Regions from separate parts of the Homo sapiens genome. Here region 2 is linked to region 1. The links are contacts of gene promoters, found by promoter capture Hi-C in blood cells and fetal thymus (Javierre and others, 2016). All regions are on one chromosome and are shown on one strand. The core of a region is centred on a gene start or on the middle of the fragment in contact, and the rest is flanking DNA. Distances in the headings are between cores, read along the strand shown.

What was found. The method cuts DNA at HindIII sites, captures the fragments that hold promoters and counts their contacts. A CHiCAGO score of 5 or more calls a contact.
Region 2: a fragment that was not itself captured here is called in contact with the fragment with the promoter of TMEM184A in region 1 in 1 of 17 cell types (monocytes); the score reaches 5.1 in monocytes.

The regions. Positions count from the first base shown.
Region 1 is chr7:1,553,815-1,557,681 of GRCh38, forward strand. TMEM184A (transmembrane protein 184A) reads right to left here and starts at 2,391. Exons shown (of 9, transcript NM_001097620.2): 1 at 2,300-2,391; 2 at 1,452-1,670. The coding sequence starts at 1,670. RefSeq lists silencers at 917-1,099, 2,467-2,536, 2,577-2,666 and enhancers at 1,209-2,009, 1,579-1,873, 2,010-2,809. The HindIII fragment of the contact is 30,451 bases long and covers 1-3,867 here.
Region 2 is chr7:2,566,474-2,569,912 of GRCh38, forward strand. It overlaps IQCE (IQ motif containing E), which reads left to right. Exons shown (of 22, transcript NM_152558.5): 2 at 643-690; 3 at 2,481-2,526. Among named protein-coding and RNA genes, the nearest start is that of IQCE, 9.2 kb to the left of the region's middle. RefSeq lists enhancers at 79-258, 370-972, 539-588, 789-958, 973-1,574. The HindIII fragment of the contact is 755 bases long and covers 1,740-2,494 here.

The DNA.
Region 1 (3,867 bases), core at 1,141-3,640:
GATCCAGCCACTCTGTGTCCTGCCTGGGACTCCTCACTCAAGGGTGACTCTGGCGGTGGGCTCAGGGGTGGGACAGGGCCTGAACTCCAGCCCAAGGGGTCTCCATGAGCCCTGTCTTGACTGCGAGGCCCCATGAAGCTAAAGCCACACTACAGCCGCGCACACACAGCCGGTTCCCAGGATTACAGCGGAAAGACGGCCTCCTCCGGGAAGCCCTCTCTGATGGCCTTACAGGAAGGGCCTGCCTCGGCACTGCCTCCGCGGCTCTGCACACTCCAGGCCACACTCATACACGTCTACCGTGGGTTCTGGTTATCTGTTCACAGCTCACTGCAACCTTGAACTGGGCTCAAGCGATCCTCCCATCTCAGCCTCCCAAGTAGCTGGGACTAACAGTGCAGGCCCCCATGCCCGGCTAATAAGCAGTTAATAAACTGTCACTGAGATGCTCCCTCGGAGACTTGTGGCCACCGGTGTCCCTGCCTGCCAGTCTCCTGATGGCCCCCTGCCCCAGCTCACCTACAGATCCATTCCCTACACCAGTGCCCCGTGCACCCGGGAAGCAGCTCTGCCCTCAGCCCAGCCCTCCACAGCCTTCCTGGGCTCCCAGCACCCCCTGAAAGCCACCTCACCGCACTGGGGTCAAGGGCTCTGGACAAATCCCTGCAGCCGTGTGGCCCTCGCGGGCCTACACACGCACTCCCACCCCACCCCTGCGCACACCGCCCTGGCCTCTCTGTGTATCTGAGTCTCTCAGGAGGGTCCTGTCCCTGACTCCCTGCCCTCTCTGCCCAGCCCCTGCCCTCGGGCACCACTTCCTCCTTGCCCCTGCCTGGCCCTTCCTTGCCACAGCGCCTGGCCGCTTCTCTACCTGGGGGCTGTTCTGTTCCCACCTGGGGACTGCTCCGGGTCGGGGGCTGTGTGTGGCTTCGGGCTTGGGGAAGTTGCTTCTCGCCCATCTCCTGCACAGGAGTCCCGGTCCCTCTAACAAGCTGTGACCTTTGCTCCCCAGCTCCCTACAGAGCAAAGTCCAACCCCCTGCCAACCTCCCACCAGCCTTCTCCAGGGTGTCACGCCTCTGGAAGGAGAAGGCCCCTTCCCCTTTCCAGCTATGTGAGCCTGGGAAAGACCTCTGGTCTCTCTGAGACTCAGTCTTCTTGTCTGTGAAATGGGACCACACTGCAGACCTCAGTGAGCCGAGTGACGAGCCTGTGAAATAGCCAGGGGTGCCCGGTGGGCGCTCTGCCCTCAGCCTGGCAGAGATCTCCCCATTTTCAGGCCCAGCTCCCACATGCCACATCCTGGGGAAGCTCATCCCCTCCCCCGTGCCCTGGCCGATCCCACTTCTGACAGCGTCTATAGCAGCGGCACCCAGGGGGACCGGGCTGAGCCACGGCCACGTCCTGTGGAGACCAAGGTCCTGAAGGAGGCTCGGGGGCGGAAGGGCTTACCTGGTGGCAGGTGAGCACCAGGGCAGTCCACACGAAGATCCCCGAGACGCCTCGGGCCAGTGCGGAGGTGAGGAAGAGCCAGGGGGCCCCCTGGGAGCTGTTCCCCATGTGGTCCATCTGCGGCCCAGCTGGCACAGCCGGTGGGGGGCTGGGCTGCGGCCAGTTCGCTGACACCAGGGGGACGCCGGCTGTCTCCAGGATCCCTGAGACATTACTCATCTGCAGAGGGAGGGAGGACACACACCGGGAGGAGTGAGGGCAAAGGTACTGGCTCCCGGCAGCAGGAAGCAGCGGGGGAGGGAGGAGACAGTGAGACGGGAGCTGAGGCTGAGCCACCCACCAGGCCGCACCCCCCACACGGACACCAGCGCCAGGCCCGGCTCCCTCCCTGCTCCGAGCTCAGCCATCGAAGCTCACCCATCAACCACCTGCGACCTGAGGGTCCCACCTCAATTCCCCCTTGTAAAACCAGCTTCCAACTCCGAGTCTCAGGCTTGCAGGGAGCCTGCTTCTTAGGGGACAAAGACCGTCTTCCAGTGGGGCAGAAGAGGGGGAACCCCTGCCGCCCTGCCTGCCCGGGAGGGCTGGGGAGCGGGCGCAGACCAGCACTGCCTGCCCCGGCAGGAGGGGGTGTGCAGCCACCCTCATGGGAGGAGCCGGCCCTCACTGGCTCTGGGACCTGTCCACCCACCTGGGAGCCCGGCTTTGCTGGGGTTCTTGGCAGCCCTGGGTGCCTGTTCCATCTCCCACTAACCTGCTGGGGCCCTGAGTCCACCCTCTCCCACACTCGCAGCCCAGTCCAGCCTCCTCCTCTCCCTCTGGTCTGCGGTCACAGGGCCCAGCTCTACCTTTGCTGGCAGGAAGCACCTGGCCCAGTCCAGGGAGGCCTGGCCTCCAGGGAAGCCTAGCTGGTCATTCTCATGGCCACGTGGCCCCAACTGGAGGCCCCACTGTGGGTGCGGCAAGGCCAGGATCTGAAGGGCTGTGCCAGGCTGGGGCGGGGCGGCCAGTGCCTCACGTCCCCAGTGGCCCACCTGGGCCCCAGGCTGCAGGCCCGTCCCCTCCTGTCCCCTCCCACGGCTGACACCCTATCCTCCCGGTTGTTTGCTGGGTGGCAGCTGGCTCCCAGGAACCTGCTGGCCGCCTGGCGCCCTCACCTGCCTATGCCAGACGGCCAGGCAGCTGCCACCTGGTGGGGACACGTGGGAGAGGTCTGCGGCAGGCCAAGGAGGGCCGGGCTGCAGGAGGAGGGGTGGAGAGCTAATGGTACAGGGTTTCTCTGGGGGGTGACAGGAGTCCTGAAATGAGGTAGAGGCGGCAGGCACACAGCACTGTGGATATACTTACCGCCACCGAATCGTTCACTTAAACCTGGGTAAATTGATGTTATGTGAATTTCATCTGAATTAAAAAAAAAATCCACGCCCCAAGAGATGAGTTGAAAACATTTGTTTTCTGGGCCGGGCGTGGTGGCTCACGCCTGTCATCCCCACACTTTGGGAGGCCAAGGTGGGTGGATCACTTGAGGTCAGGAGTTCGAGACCAGCCTGGCCAACATGGTGAAACGCCGTCTCTACGAAATACGCAAAAATTAGCTAGGTGTGGCAGCGTGCACCTGTAATTCCAGATACTCAAGAGGCTGAGACAGGAGAATCGCTTGAACTCAGAAGGCGGAGGTTGCAGTAAGCTGAGATCACACCACTGCACTCCAGCCTGGGGACAGAGGGAGACTCTGTGTCCAAAAAAAAAAAAAAAAAAAAAAGGAAATATTTCTGGTTTTTGTGGATCAAGGCAGGAGAGGGGGAGTGACAGCCCAGTCCCTGGACCCTTTGGGGTCTGGCAAGGGGTTGCGGGGCCCTGAGGGTCCCTGTCACCCCCATGCAGAGGCCCCTGTGGAGAAAAAACTCACTCACCCCGGCTCCTGGGAGAGGGATGTGGGCCCTCAGCCCACCTCTTGTCCTGTTCTGGTTACGCTTGGGCTCATGCCGCTGGGGCCACCATTACCAAGTCCCGCTCCATGCCCGCAACGGATCCACACACTCCTTGTCCTTCATATCTCCTACCCTCCCACAGCCCTGAGCAACAGGGCTCAAGGGGTTGAGGCTGGAATGACTGGAGCCACTGTTCCCCTTTTATTTTTAATTAATTTATTTTTTGAGACGGAGCCTCGCTCTGTCGCCAGGCTGGAGTACAATGGCGCGATCTCGGCTCACTGCAACCTCCGCCTCCTGGGTTCAAGTGATTCTCCTGCCTCAGCCTCCCGAGTAGCTGGGATTACAGGCGCCCACCACCACACCTAGCTAATTTTTGTATTTTTAGTAAAGACGGGGTTTCACCACGTTGGCCAGGCTGGGCTTGAACTCCTGACCTCAGGTGATCTGCCCGCCTCAGCCTCCCAAAGTGCTGGGATTACAGG
Region 2 (3,439 bases), core at 867-3,366, 1.0 Mb after region 1:
TTCCCAGCTGGGGTCTTGCTCTGTTGCCCAGGCTGGAGTGCAGTGGCATGATTATGACTCACTGCAGCCTCGACCTCCTAGGCTCAAGCGATCCTCCCACCTTAGCCTCCCGAGTAGCTGGGACTACAGGTGTGTGCAACCACAGCCTGGCTTATTTTTTAAATTTTTAAGATTTTTTTTGTAGAGACAGTGTCTCACCATGTTGCCCAGGCCGAGTTTGCTTTTTAAAAGATGACTCTCACCCGTTCTTACCAGGAGACAGTCACAGATTCGTTGTGCTTTGATGTAAAGATGAATAAGAGTGAGAACATTTATGTAAAAATGAAATGCTTTCAGCAAGAACTGGTTTTGTTTTTCTTTGTCAAGACACAATTCTGTGGGAAATAGTGTTACTAGATTTGCAGACATTTGCACGCCTGCTGGGCGGCGTTTTGTGTTTTGTTCCCCCCACCCACCCATTCCTTCTGATGAGACTGAGGAACTGGCTGCTGCCCAGCTGGAGTGTTCTGAGTGGCCTCAGAGCTGGATTTCTGGAGTTTCTGTTTCAGCAGCTGTGGACGGGCTGTTTTCGCTTTTGTAAACGTGATGGTCGGAAGCCCAGCAGGTGCCGTCGAGTTACAGTGTTTGCCTCTCTTCCTCCAGGGAGATGACAGTCTGTCTGCAGTCACCTTTGACTCTGATGTGGAGACGGTGAGTGCCGCTGGGTGTCAGCCGTGCGACCTCGGGCTGGTTGCGCTGCCCTTGCAGACTGCACTCGGAAGCGTAAAATAGGCCGTTCTCCACAATACTGTGTCGAGAGCTGGAATGCATATTCCGAATGCTCCTTGGTGTTTGAAAAGTTTCCAGCCCTTAGGTTTAAATACCTGTGGTGATAACTTTAAAACTTTTATCTGGACGTGAATCCTGAGCAGGGCTCATGTGAGACAGATTGCTAGTCCCTGGCCTGCAGCTGGTTTTGCCCTGCACCCCACGCCCTCATCCTGACACTTGAGGGGAGGAGGAGAGCCCCTGCTAATGCCGTCGGAAGGACCCGATGGGAGAAAGCAGACCTGGGCAGCCGCCATCCCAAGCTGAACTGCTGCCTGGCCTCCCAGCCCGGAAAGGAGAGGGGCAGGAGTGGTGTCCGATGGCCCAGTGGCACACTATGGCCCCGGACTGGGCTTTGGGTTTGTTTGGCAAGCTGTGCTGGGTAGAAAAGGAAGTGTGCCAATTGCTCTTCTCGTGTATGAGCGAAAAAAGCTTTTCTTACTGGAGACGCAGATCTAGCAAACCTGCAGCCAGCAGAACGAACCCGGCACCAGCAGATCTCAATTCCACGTTTGCTCTGTGGACTCAAGGGGGAGCCTCAGCTCCACTGTCTCCCTCCAGGGACCTCTGTTCGCAAAGTTAAGGATTTTCCCTCCATGTCACAGAGGGCAGGGGATGCTCCTCTGATGTTCCCCGGAGGAGGAGGGATCCAAACCAAGCCCCAGGGAAAATTCCCCCCGCGCAGAACTTGGGGCTCAATGTTTCTGCTGGAGGGGAAGTGAGGAGACCTGGCCGCGGTAGCCTTATCTGCTCGGTCTAGTGCAAGGTGATGAGGAAGTTAAGGTTGGAAGCATGGCAGCATCTTCCCCAGGCCACGGCACGACGGGTTGTGTGTCTCTAATGCAAAATCCAAAATGCTCCAAAAATGGAAACTTTTTGAGCACCCTCATGAGGCCACAAGTGGGAAATTCCACCCTTAAGTACTTCACACAAGCTTTGTTTCATGCACAAAGTTATTAAAAACACAATATAAAATTACCATTGCACTATGGGTATAATGTATATATGAAACATAAATGAATTTTGTGTTTAGACTTGGGTCCCATCCCCAAGATACCTCATTATATGGATGCAAATATTCCCAAATCAGAAACACTCTTGGTCCCAGGCATCTCGGATATGGGACACTCACCCCGTAGTAAGCAGTGGAACCAGATCTGGACCCCGTTCTGTGAGATCTGGACCCCATTGGGTGTTTGGCATCGTGGTTGTCACAGGAGACCACCTTCCAGACAGGGTCTCCCTTTGCTCGGCTTTCTTCCATAGTGGGCTTTGCAGTTGACTTATGTGCAGGGATTCATCTGACCACCTCCACCTGAGTGGACAGAGGTGCGCTGGGCTCCCAGGCTGGCTGTGCGGGCGGTTTGGGTGGGGGCAGATCCGCCATTTGTGTGGGACCCTCAGTCTGAACGTCAGGAGCCCGGGCCCGATGGTTTTCTGTAATTGGAACTTGTGCTCTGAGAGCCCAGCCCTGAGCACTGACGTGAGTGCATTTTTGTGGGGTCTGCATCGGGCCCTGCGTGTCCTGTTCCTGGACCCTCCTTACGTCCCCGTAAGCTCACGTCCTCTTGCTGCTCTTACACGACCCCTGACCCTTTCTGAACATGGTAGGGTCTTGTGATGCACCACTGTGGGAGCTCAGCAAGCCTTATGCCATTTCTTCTTTCTTTCAGAAAGCAAAAAGGAAAGCTTTCCACAAACCTCCACCCACATCGCCAAGTAAGTATGACGAGGCCTGCCTTCCCTCTCACGCCGACGTTCCCTGGTGTCCTGGAGAGAATGAAGGGTATTTGCTTTGTACATTTAGGTAGCTGAGACCTGACGCCTCAGCCAGTTGGCCCCATTCCCACTGGGGTCTCCCAGTTCGCGCTGGAGTCTCCCCCTTTCATGTTGGGGTTCATGCTGGGGTCTCAGGAGCACGTGGAGTCCCTGTTGGTGCCAGAGTGACGAGCCCTTTCTCAGGGCTGAGGCTGCCACCAACTCCCCAGTCTCCCCCGACAGTGCCTCTAGGCCTTTTGTTTTCTTTTTCTTGCTTTCTCAAAGGCTTACCTCTTCTGAATGCTGCCAGAGTTAAAGGATTTTTGACCTGGGATTTGTTCCTGAGAGTCGAAGTTACTGAGAAGGTGTAGTTGGTGGGACGGGTGGCAAGTTCACCTTTTTCCCCTTTGGATCATCCTGGGCTTGTTTTGCTGCCAGGGTTCTATTCTTCCTCACCCTCAGCAGGAGGAGGGCAGCATTTGCCACCCTGCTTGTCCAGGAGGGTGCCGCGGAGGTGGGGTTAGTCCAGGTGGCCCCGAGGCCCCTCTGTCTCTAATGCCGCTCTCGTGTACAGCAGCCCGTGTGCCGACCTTGTGCGTACGAATGTGTTCGTGACCCTGTAAATCCTAGGCCGGCATCCTGTGCTACCCCAAAGCCTGTGGCCTTCCCTGGCTGTGCCATCTGTAGATGTGTGTCTATTTTATATACGCGTATCATATATTTCAAAGGTTCAGTCAAGTATATGACGCACTCAGAGAATATAAACAAACTTTGCTACTAGCCCAAGGAAAACATAATTAGGTAAATCCCTGCACAGAAAAGAATGCATGTTATATGTTACAAATCAATATAAACACTAGAAGGAAATCACCTA